Linked DNA regions of Homo sapiens: all the other regions are linked to region 2. The links are contacts of gene promoters, found by promoter capture Hi-C in blood cells and fetal thymus (Javierre and others, 2016). All regions are on one chromosome and are shown on one strand. The core of a region is centred on a gene start or on the middle of the fragment in contact, and the rest is flanking DNA. Distances in the headings are between cores, read along the strand shown. Region 1 has its middle 14 kb from the start of KRT85. Region 2 holds the start of KRT4 (keratin 4). Region 3 holds the start of KRT6B (keratin 6B). Region 4 holds the start of KRT6A (keratin 6A).

Region 1 (2,736 bases), core at 159-2,658, 460 kb after region 2:
ATGAGGATAATATTCTGGTTGCTGTGAGAAATTAATGAAATACATATATAATGTGCCAGACACCTAGCAGGTGTTTAACAAATACAGGCTCCCTTCCTCACCCCTTTTGTACCTTTGCCCCCACCTTGCCCTGGTGTGTGTGTGGCCCAGACCATGGCTCTGACCTTTTAGCCGCAGACAAAGGAGAAATGCAAAGGGGCTAGACCGATCCAGTGAGAATCAGAGGGACAGTCACTTCCATGGCCAGAATTATCCGACCCTCCTCTTCCCTCTACCCACATCAACCTGTGGTTCTCAAGCTTTAGTTCTTCTAGGAATCACCTGGAAGCTTCTTAAAATACAGATTCCTGGGCTCATCCCTAGAACTTTTGATTGAGAGTTCCAGATGGAGCCCAGGATCTGCACATTTAGCAACTACCCCACAGGGATTCTGATGCAGGTGGTGGTCGGTGGACCACATTGTGAGATGCACCAAGACAGTCAGGGCTTTGGGTGGGTTGGGAAGACAATGAAGGAGGCAGGCATTAACTTGGTTACTAAGAAAAAGCCTTTCGCCATTGATATTTAATCAAGCACACCAAAAGAAAGAAGGAACCATACAGGAATCATGCAAATACAATGAACTTCCAGGCAACAAACAGTATAAACCCAGCTGATTAGCCTCCGTCAGTCTTTCAATCTGGACATATGAATAGTTGGGGGACTCTGGGAATATACAATCTCTCAGAGCAAGTGAGGAGCCCAGCTCCACACCCACACCACCCTTCCATGCTGAGGCAGCATCTGGAGCCCCTGTCATCCGAGGGCAAAGCGCAGAGATGTTCCCACATACTCCACACCCTCTAGCTGGCTCCGTTCCAAGAGGATCTGGCACACAGTCAGGACTTAATTTAACATCTGCTGGCCTGAAGTTAATTGGGGAAGACAATGACCGAGAAATTCATTCAAAAAAAAGCCTTTCTATTTCATTCCTGAACCACAGGGAAGGGGAGAAGCAATGGAAGTGAAAATAATGTCAAACCCAGGGTTTACACAGAGAAAGTAAATTGTTAACTCCAATAAGAAGGAAACAGGAGAGTTAGTTCTGGGTTCTCTGTAAGGGGAAATTACTAAACTGACATTTGGTCATGCAAGAGAAAAGATTTCCACTCCCCAACCCACACTGCCCCCATCAGAACAGGTCCGTCCAGAGTCCCACCCCCTCTATGCAAACCGCACAGATTGGGCACTGGAGCAGGCCCCCACTGCAGAGGGGCAACACAGTGCACCACTGCTGATGGCCACACCCCCTGAGCCACAGGAGGCAGTGGAGTCCAGGTCCCCGCAGACCACACCACCCTGGGAATGGCTCACACATGTGGACAGAGACACAGGTCAGAATTCTCTTCCATCTCAGACATGTTATGACCCAGAATCCTTTAGAACCAATGATTAATTATCTTCCTTCTCTGAGGGACCAGCAACATGAGTCTTTTTAAACTACAGGCAAACCTGAACCCACTGCCATCTGCTTCTTCAGGAGTGTGGTTAGCAAATTGCACACCAAACTCTACTTGGACCAGGCTGATGTTGAGACATGTTCATACAATCTTTGAGCAAAAACTGATAGATCACACTAGAGGAGTCATCTAGAAATATGGTTGCTAGAGAGGTGAGGGGAATGGAGGGATGGGAATCAGACACCTGGCCCAGGGGCTGTGTGTACATTGGATTATTAGATAGAGATTTACAAGTTGCCTGCAGAGACCCACATGATCAGAATATAAACCTAGCTTTTTTTCTTACTAGAACATGCTACCACTTGAGTAGTATTCTGTGTGTAACTAAAAGGCTTAAGCTATTTTTGCAGAACCAAATAGGGGTTCAGAATTTGCACCATTCATTAACTTAGACTTCATGGGTGTTCCAGATGGATCCATGTATGGTCAAATATTTGAGGTCATCAGTTTGTCTGGATCCCAGAGACATCAGCTCAGGAGTCCCTTGTCTACCACTCCATAGACAGAGGCTTGGTCATCAGTTAGATGCAATCTAATACTAAGATTGCTGAAACCCCAGAAAGCCATGCCCACACACACCCAACTTACAGATATTGACTGAGCCCACGCCTTCACACAGCCTGCAGGGAGAGGAGAGAGTGTACGGTTAGTGCTGAGTTCCTCTGCTTTTGCACCAAACCTATTCTCCTCCATGCTGAAGGAGAAGAAGGGCCCTAAGAGGCAGGGGGAAGCTACCCACCTGCTGCAGACAGCATCAGTGTTGGTCCTGCTTGCTGGGATCCCAAAAGGACAGGAGTATGTTAGCTTACAGGATCCAAAATGCCACTTTATGCCATGTTTGGCTTTCAGCCATGGAAATTTGGTGAACTGGGAAGTAGAGATGAGGGGGGCATCCTCCTGGTCCCTTGGCTGGAAATGCCAGCAAAGCCAAAGTGGTGATGGAAGCTGCTGCTACCTAGCTAGACGTCTCTGAGCAGGAAAAAGCTTGCCTATTACTCAAACAGATTCATTTTTATACCATGATTTTAAATGGTACCCCAGACATCTATCTGATTTCATTCAATGCAGAGGGAGGCTGAAGAGTATGGTGTGGTTAAGAGCCTGGACTCTCAAGCCAGGCTGCCTGGACTTAAATCTGGCTGTGCGGCTTACTAGCTGGGTGATCTTGGGCAGGTCGCTTAACCTTTCTGTGCCTCAATTTCTCCAGCATAAAATGGGGGTGATAATACCTGCCTGA
Region 2 (2,700 bases), core at 147-2,646:
TGGTGGTGGCAAGAGAGAGAATGAAAGCCAAGCAAAATGGGTTTTTCCTTATTAAACATCAGATCTCGTGAGACTTATTCACTACCACAAGAACAGTATGGGGGAAACCGCCCCCATAATTCAATCATCTCCCACCGGGGCCCTCCCACAATGTGTGGGAAATATGGGAGTACAATTCAAGATGAGATTTGGGTGGGGACACAGAGCCAAACCATATTGGATGGGTTTAGAGTGCTTAGTTGGCCCACCCAAGGTTATACAGCTAGTTAGTGGCAACAGGAGGGATTTGAACACAGATCTGTTACTGTTCAGTTGGGAAGAATTTAAGTTATGGCTTAAAACTAGGATTTTGCATTTAAAAACATTGCTCTGAGAAGGGATCCATAGGTTTCATCATTCTGCCAAAGGGATCCCCAGCAGCAAAAAAGTTATGAACTCCTGCCCTGAATTCTGCACCATTACAGAAAACCAGAACACACCTAGCAAACAACTGGACAGCAAATGGAGCAGCAGAGTGCACACCACCAGACCCCGCTGGAGAACGCCCATCTAGAATTGTGCAAGCACAGATTGAAGGGAGGCCTGCGGGGCAGCATGGGTACCCAGGGCTGAGAAAGACAGTCACGGTTTTCTTTGGGGAGGTGTTTTGTCTTCCCCCATCTCCTTAGTACCTAGCTCCATGCCTGGCAGTTTCTCAGTAGCTGTTGGCCAAGTTGAAGTGAATCTGGATCTAGGTTGGAAGGCTAAGGCTGGAATACAGAATATTTCCCCTTTTTATAGGTACATGGAGCCAAGAACATGTGGAGGAATAAGAATGCTAAGAATGACAAATATACATGTGGCTTTTGACAGTTTACAGAGCACTCCATTAATCACTAGCTCACTCTATCCTGAGAAGTGGCAAGGCAAATATTTGTATTACTTCCAATTTACAGGGAAAGCAACTGGGCCTCAGAGGGTGACTTGCTCCGGTTTGCAGAGCTAGGAGGTGGCAGGCTGTGCGCTCAAACTCAGGCTGTCTAACTCCACATTCTGTGGGGTGAGAGGATGGGTGATGGGGTGTCTTTTCTGGAGGAGGGAGGTGCTGTGAGCCTAGCGAGATGGAGGTACAGTGGGTGTGGGCCTGGAGCGCTGGGCCCAGGCAGGGGCTTCTGATTAGGAAGCCCTGGGGCACCAGTTCAGGTTCTCCCAGAGAGTAGTGTGATGGGATCCAGTAACCTGTGCCCTCCAGATGACTTCTGTAGGTGTGTTTAGTGACATGCTCAACGGGTGCGGGAAGGATGGGCTTGTGCCAAGGGCCAAGCCCAGAGATGTTTCAGATTTTTCCCTTTATGCCCCTGCAACCAAGCCCTGCTGCTCCAGGACATATAAGAGACGAAGGCTGAGGGCTCCAGCACTCACCGGCCTGGGCCCTGTCACTTCTCTGATAGCTCCCAGCTCGCTCTCTGCAGCCATGATTGCCAGACAGCAGTGTGTCCGAGGCGGGCCCCGGGGCTTCAGCTGTGGCTCGGCCATTGTAGGCGGTGGCAAGAGAGGTGCCTTCAGCTCAGTCTCCATGTCTGGAGGTGCTGGCCGATGCTCTTCTGGGGGATTTGGCAGCAGAAGCCTCTACAACCTCAGGGGGAACAAAAGCATCTCCATGAGTGTGGCTGGGTCACGACAAGGTGCCTGCTTTGGGGGTGCTGGAGGCTTTGGCACTGGTGGCTTTGGTGGTGGATTTGGGGGCTCCTTCAGTGGTAAGGGTGGCCCTGGCTTCCCCGTCTGCCCCGCTGGGGGAATTCAGGAGGTCACCATCAACCAGAGCTTGCTCACCCCCCTCCACGTGGAGATTGACCCTGAGATCCAGAAAGTCCGGACGGAAGAGCGCGAACAGATCAAGCTCCTCAACAACAAGTTTGCCTCCTTCATCGACAAGGTGAGCTGTGTCCTCGGCTGGAGAGGGGCAGTTAGAAGAGAGGGGTCCTGAGTCCTGGGGTCTCAGACCTGAGCCTGCCACAGGTGCTGGGGAGACCACTGAACTTCCCTGGGCCCCAATTCTCCAGCTGTTGAAGGGGCATCATGACTTTGAGCCTTCCTTTTTGTCCCGTGGCTGGTGGGAAGGTGGGATGCTCAAGGCAGTTAAGTGTTTGGAATTCCCTAGACAGGCTGTGGGATACTGGACAAATCATTTGGCTTTTCTGGCTCTAGTCATCCCAGCTATAAAGGGGGTTCATTATTTCTCTGCTTTTTCTCAGATTTTGGTTTTGAATATAATGCAGTTAACCCCATTAATCACTTAACAGTGGCCACTTCTGTTCTTAGAACAGAAGACAACTAAGCTGATTTTGCAAATGAAAAAGGGACTGGCTCCAGTGGCAGATTCTAGGTCTCACCAAGGCCTTGGAAATTTACTTTTTTCATTCCTTTGACTGGACAACACTGCTCATGTCTGGGTCTGTTTGAAGAAAGGAGACAGGTCTCTTTTCTTTTTGTAGCCCAACTTCCTTTTTCATGCAACGTCTAGAAGTTCAAGTTCTTTAAGCTCAGTTATGGTCATGCATGATGGATGATAGTGAGCAGTGCAGCCCCAGAGAGCCGAGTCATCCAAAGATTGATGACTGGGTGGATGAGTGCCTCCCTTTGGTCCAGGTTGCCCTGGTTCACCAGGCATCAAAGTCTTGGGCAGCTTCGACATATGGGGCAAGAATGAACACTTTTGGA
Region 3 (2,700 bases), core at 113-2,612, 360 kb after region 2:
CCCTCTCTATATATGCCAACTCCCTCCACCTCTTCCTCACCCATACAAACACACGTTGACACAAACACATATGCACAGACATGTCACCCATGGCCCAGGAAAAGCACAGGAAAATATCCAAGTAAAGATACAAGGATACACAAGGAACTGCTAACATTACTTCCTCCATAGATAGGAATTGGGTAACTGGGGAATGGCCTTGAGCTATATTATTTTGTTGTTTAGCATGTTTTACAAAAAATTTTTTAAAACATGTATCATGTATTCAATTTGTAAACATGTAAATAATTGTGCAAATAGTACTATTCAAAATTTAAATGGGCAATCTACTACATTTACTTCTAGAATGTTTAAATATAGACAGAATCTTAATAAGCTTCTAATTTTAATATGAAATATGAAGGTTAGAGTCTCATATTAAAGGAAACAATAGGGGTATGCAATTAGAAAAATCCCAAGAATGAAAAAGTACAATGAACAGTTAACCTGTTTTATTTAACAAATAAAAGTAAGAAATGAAGGGAGATTTTTAAATTTCAATGATTTAAAGGATATATCACTCAAATACAACGTTTATAGAGCTTATTTTGACTCTGATTGGGACACCAAAATATAAGAAATATATATCAAAAATAGGACTGCTTGAAGACTAAATAGACACTTGTTCATTTTAATTAGTATGTAAATTTTTAAGATATAAAAATAGTGTTTTGATTTTTTAAAGGACCTATTATTTAGATATTAATATTGAATTATTGATTGAAGACATAATATGACTTCTGGAATTTCCTTTCAAACAATCTAGAATGGAAGAGGAAATAGGGTTGAAGTATGAAAGAAATCAGGCTGGCCATGAGATGATCATCATGGAAGCAGGTGACAGGTATATACAGGCCCATTGCAGTGTTCTGCTTCTCTACCTGTTTAAAATTGCACCTAAAAGGTGAAACAATTATGGGGAAATTGTAATATTTCTGTTAAGGAATTCACAATACAGTGCCTGTGATCTCCAACAGCAAGGCTGGAAGAAAGTCAGACTGGGAAGAGGAGGGCACTCAGGGCATGTCGATAAACAGCCTAGCATGCAGAACCTTTGCTGAAGACAGTGACTAATTCCAACTTCATGAATTGAGAATACTCTTATTGTGCTGAGATCTCAAGTCAAAGCTGGAGGCAGGAACATTTTGCCTGACTAAAGGAAGCGAAAAATGCAATCTCGGTATTTCATAACTTTTGTAATAATGCAGGTGTGATCTCACTATTTGTAAAGCCCAGCCCTTCCCAACCTGCAAGCTCACCTTCCAGGACTGGGCCCAGCCCATGCTCTCCATATATAAGCTGCTACTGGAGTCCGATTCCTCGTCCTGCTTCTCCTCCCTCTCGCCTCCAGCCTCTCACACTCTCCTAAGCCCTCTCATCTCCTGGAACCATGGCCAGCACATCCACCACCATCAGGAGCCACAGCAGCAGCCGCCGGGGTTTCAGTGCCAACTCAGCCAGGCTCCCTGGGGTCAGCCGCTCTGGCTTCAGCAGCATCTCCGTGTCCCGCTCCAGGGGCAGTGGTGGCCTGGGTGGCGCATGTGGAGGAGCTGGCTTTGGCAGCCGCAGTCTGTATGGCCTGGGGGGCTCCAAGAGGATCTCCATTGGAGGGGGCAGCTGTGCCATCAGTGGCGGCTATGGCAGCAGAGCCGGAGGCAGCTATGGCTTTGGTGGCGCCGGGAGTGGATTTGGTTTCGGTGGTGGAGCCGGCATTGGCTTTGGTCTGGGTGGTGGAGCCGGCCTTGCTGGTGGCTTTGGGGGCCCTGGCTTCCCTGTGTGCCCCCCTGGAGGCATCCAAGAGGTCACTGTCAACCAGAGTCTCCTGACTCCCCTCAACCTGCAAATTGACCCCGCCATCCAGCGGGTGCGGGCCGAGGAGCGTGAGCAGATCAAGACCCTCAACAACAAGTTTGCCTCCTTCATCGACAAGGTGAGCCAGTGCCATGCCCTCCATCGGGCACTTCAGGGTCCCCAGACCAGAAGAGCAACACCTTCCTGCCGGAGAGACCCTAGGAGGGAGGGAGAAGGGGACTCAGCCCAGCTCTGCAGAGAGTGCAGGTGGCTCTCGGTGCACAGGAGGCAGCACAGATGGGCATCACTCCCCCATGGGATATCTGGAGTGGCCCTCACTCCTGCCTAGGGAGAGCCATAACTTTTCATAACCCTGAAGCACAGATGAGGCCATCAGAGAGTGGAGTAGGTTAATTCTCCCCTCTGAAGTGTTTAAGAGATTACAAAGCAAATGCCAGGAGTATATGGGCTGGTAAATTACACTCTGGGGTCTGGGTAAGAGGAAAAAGATTTAGAAAGAAAAGGAAAAGATAATCTGGCTGGATTAAGAAAAAAAGGGACATAGAAACAACTGTAAAACATGGATAAATGCTAATTAATTTTAAAAACAGAGAATGACCATAACATCAGAATATTTGAGAGGAGACACTAAATGGGAAAGTAGACTGAAATGTAATCATGAGTCAACATCTAATATCCCTCCTAACTAAGATCCTCTCGGTAAAAAAAACTGTGTACAATATATCAGGTAATTAGTATTTTTAAACTAGATTTGTGATTGTGCTTGGAAAAAGAAAAGAAGAAATGTTGAAACTCACTGATGATCAATAGCTTACAGTGCGAGAACACCTCAGTGGTCCGTGGGACAAT
Region 4 (2,806 bases), core at 118-2,617, 320 kb after region 2:
CTCCTGGATGCTGTGTCCCCCCCTCCAAATGTTGGAGAAATGGGACTGCTTTTAAAATAGTAACAAGAGCTTTCCTGAGGCTCTTCTTAGCATGGGAGTTTGTTCTTCCTCCTGCGGTTGCTCATTTATCCATAGGTTCTCACAGAACAATATTGCCCAGGATTGCTCTCCATTCTCCTCATGCACAGTGCTTAATGCATGGACTGGAGAAGTGAAGCTCATTCCTCTGTAAACCAAGCACACTCACCTTTGTCAGCCTGCCCACCCTCCCAGAAGGTGTATATGGATTTGAGATTTCAAGCACTGAGATCAGAAATTAAAATGTGGAATTGACATGTTACATCATCACACTTGTAAGGGCACAATTTTATGATTCACAGCTTCCATATGCCCCTTGACTTTCCCTACACACCCAATTAAACTGTCTGACTCTTGATTCTTAAGAAATGTCAAAATCTGTGGGAATAAAAATCCAGTGAATTCCTTAATGATTTTTATATCACTCATTTTCCGTTGTTTAAATTAAGCTCTATGTAAATGCTCCAAAACAGCAGGGAGAAGGTGTCTATAAATTTCAACTGGAAAGGCAGATTTACATGAGACTAAGCTCAATAGGAAAGCAAGCACTGGAGAGAGAGGTGCAGATATGGAAAGAAACTCCTGGCAGAAGTCAGGTCTCTGAGCACCCTGGGCAATGTCTGCTCCCTTCATTTTAGGTAAACGGCATGTGGGCAGGTGATCACACAGTACACAGAACAAATGTTGCTCCTACAGTGTAAAGACTCAACTCCTCTGTCCCTCTTGCCTGACAAAGGAGGGTTAGATCCCCAAAGCAGACCCCGTTCCTATGTCCAGGACACAAGGGAGGACAGCCAGGAGCTCCAGAAGAACTGGTCCAAATGCAGTGGAAAAAACACAACAGGCTACTTCTTGCTCAGGCCATCGGGCAAATGCCCATACGCCCTCAGGAAGGATCCCACTCAGAGGGTGAGGCTGGTGCAAGTGGAGTAGAAAACCTGTGTGGGAAGGGGGCACACAGGGAGTGTCTGATGAAGAAGAAGGAGGGGACAATTATCACAGATCAGCTCCTTGTCTCCTTTGTTTGAGGACATGACTAACTCATGACTTCAGTGAATGTATACCCGGGCTTATTGTGTTAGGATCAAGTCAAGGCTGGAAGGCAGGAGAATTTCTCTATGACTAAAGGAAGCCAAAAAGCAATCTTCATATTTCATACCTTTCTAGAAACTGGGTGTGATCTCACTGTTGGTAAAGCCCAGCCCTTCCCAACCTGCAAGCTCACCTTCCAGGACTGGGCCCAGCCCATGCTCTCCATATATAAGCTGCTGCCCCGAGCCTGATTCCTAGTCCTGCTTCTCTTCCCTCTCTCCTCCAGCCTCTCACACTCTCCTCAGCTCTCTCATCTCCTGGAACCATGGCCAGCACATCCACCACCATCAGGAGCCACAGCAGCAGCCGCCGGGGTTTCAGTGCCAACTCAGCCAGGCTCCCTGGGGTCAGCCGCTCTGGCTTCAGCAGCGTCTCCGTGTCCCGCTCCAGGGGCAGTGGTGGCCTGGGTGGTGCATGTGGAGGAGCTGGCTTTGGCAGCCGCAGTCTGTATGGCCTGGGGGGCTCCAAGAGGATCTCCATTGGAGGGGGCAGCTGTGCCATCAGTGGCGGCTATGGCAGCAGAGCCGGAGGCAGCTATGGCTTTGGTGGCGCCGGGAGTGGATTTGGTTTCGGTGGTGGAGCCGGCATTGGCTTTGGTCTGGGTGGTGGAGCCGGCCTTGCTGGTGGCTTTGGGGGCCCTGGCTTCCCTGTGTGCCCCCCTGGAGGCATCCAAGAGGTCACCGTCAACCAGAGTCTCCTGACTCCCCTCAACCTGCAAATCGATCCCACCATCCAGCGGGTGCGGGCTGAGGAGCGTGAACAGATCAAGACCCTCAACAACAAGTTTGCCTCCTTCATCGACAAGGTGAGCCAGTGCCATGCCCTCCATGGGGCACTTCAGGGTCCCCAGACCAGAGGAGCAACACCTTCCTGCCAGGGAGACCTAGGAGGGAGGGAGAAGAGGACTCAGCCCAGCTCTGCAGAGAGTGCAGATGGCTGCTGGTGCCCAGCAAGCAGCAGGGATGGGCATCACTCCCCCATGGGATCTCTGGAGTGGCCCTCACTCCTGCCTAGGGAGAACCATAACTTTTCATAACCCTGAAGCACAGATGAGGCCATCAGAGAATGGAGTAGGTTAACTCTTCCCTTTGAAGCGTCAAAGAAAATGCCAGGAGTACACGGGCTGGTAAATTACACTCTGGGGTCTGGATAAGAGGAAAAAATATTGGAAACAAAAGAAAGGATATTTTGGCTAGATTAAGAAAAAAAAGACTTAAAACGTTTATACGTTATGTGGAAATGTTAATTAATCCTCAAAACAAAGAATGACCATAACATCAGGATGTTTTAGAGGAGAGACTTGCACAAATGGGAAATAAGACGGGAATCAAATCATTGGGCAACATTTAACATCTCTTCTAACTGAGGTCCTATCAGTAATAAAAACTGTGTAAAATTTATCAGATGAATACTATTTTATAACTATGTTTGTAATTTTGGCTGGGAAAAGAAGGAAAAGACATGTTGAAACTCATTAATATGTCCAATAACTTAGAGAGTGAGAACACCTGAATGGTCCGTGGGACAATTCCTCTAGTGAGATTGGTGGGGTACAAAGGAGAAGGGGTTGGGGGAGCAGAGCTCAGCCTGAGCCTCTCTACATGCACTGTAGTAGCCCAGCACCATGGGAACCTCC

What was found. The method cuts DNA at HindIII sites, captures the fragments that hold promoters and counts their contacts. A CHiCAGO score of 5 or more calls a contact.
Region 1: a fragment that was not itself captured here is called in contact with the fragment with the promoter of KRT4 in region 2 in 1 of 17 cell types (endothelial precursors); the score reaches 6.7 in endothelial precursors.
Region 3: the fragment with the promoter of KRT6B here is called in contact with the fragment with the promoter of KRT4 in region 2 in 13 of 17 cell types (endothelial precursors, total CD8 T cells, total CD4 T cells and 10 more); the score reaches 11.3 in endothelial precursors.
Region 4: the fragment with the promoter of KRT6A here is called in contact with the fragment with the promoter of KRT4 in region 2 in 7 of 17 cell types (activated CD4 T cells, total CD4 T cells, naive CD8 T cells and 4 more); the score reaches 7.3 in activated CD4 T cells.

The regions. Positions count from the first base shown.
Region 1 is chr12:52,352,504-52,355,239 of GRCh38, reverse strand. It overlaps the pseudogene KRT89P. Among named protein-coding and RNA genes, the nearest start is that of KRT85, 14 kb to the left of the region's middle. The HindIII fragment of the contact is 2,155 bases long and covers 331-2,485 here.
Region 2 is chr12:52,812,812-52,815,511 of GRCh38, reverse strand. KRT4 (keratin 4) reads left to right here and starts at 1,396. Exons shown (of 9, transcript NM_002272.4): 1 at 1,396-1,915. The coding sequence starts at 1,454. RefSeq lists an enhancer at 1,824-2,325 and a silencer at 2,491-2,691. The HindIII fragment of the contact is 5,472 bases long and covers 1-2,700 here.
Region 3 is chr12:52,450,808-52,453,507 of GRCh38, reverse strand. KRT6B (keratin 6B) reads left to right here and starts at 1,362. Exons shown (of 9, transcript NM_005555.4): 1 at 1,362-1,969. The coding sequence starts at 1,430. The HindIII fragment of the contact is 8,192 bases long and covers 379-2,700 here.
Region 4 is chr12:52,491,818-52,494,623 of GRCh38, reverse strand. KRT6A (keratin 6A) reads left to right here and starts at 1,367. Exons shown (of 9, transcript NM_005554.4): 1 at 1,367-1,975. The coding sequence starts at 1,436. The HindIII fragment of the contact is 6,361 bases long and covers 1-2,806 here.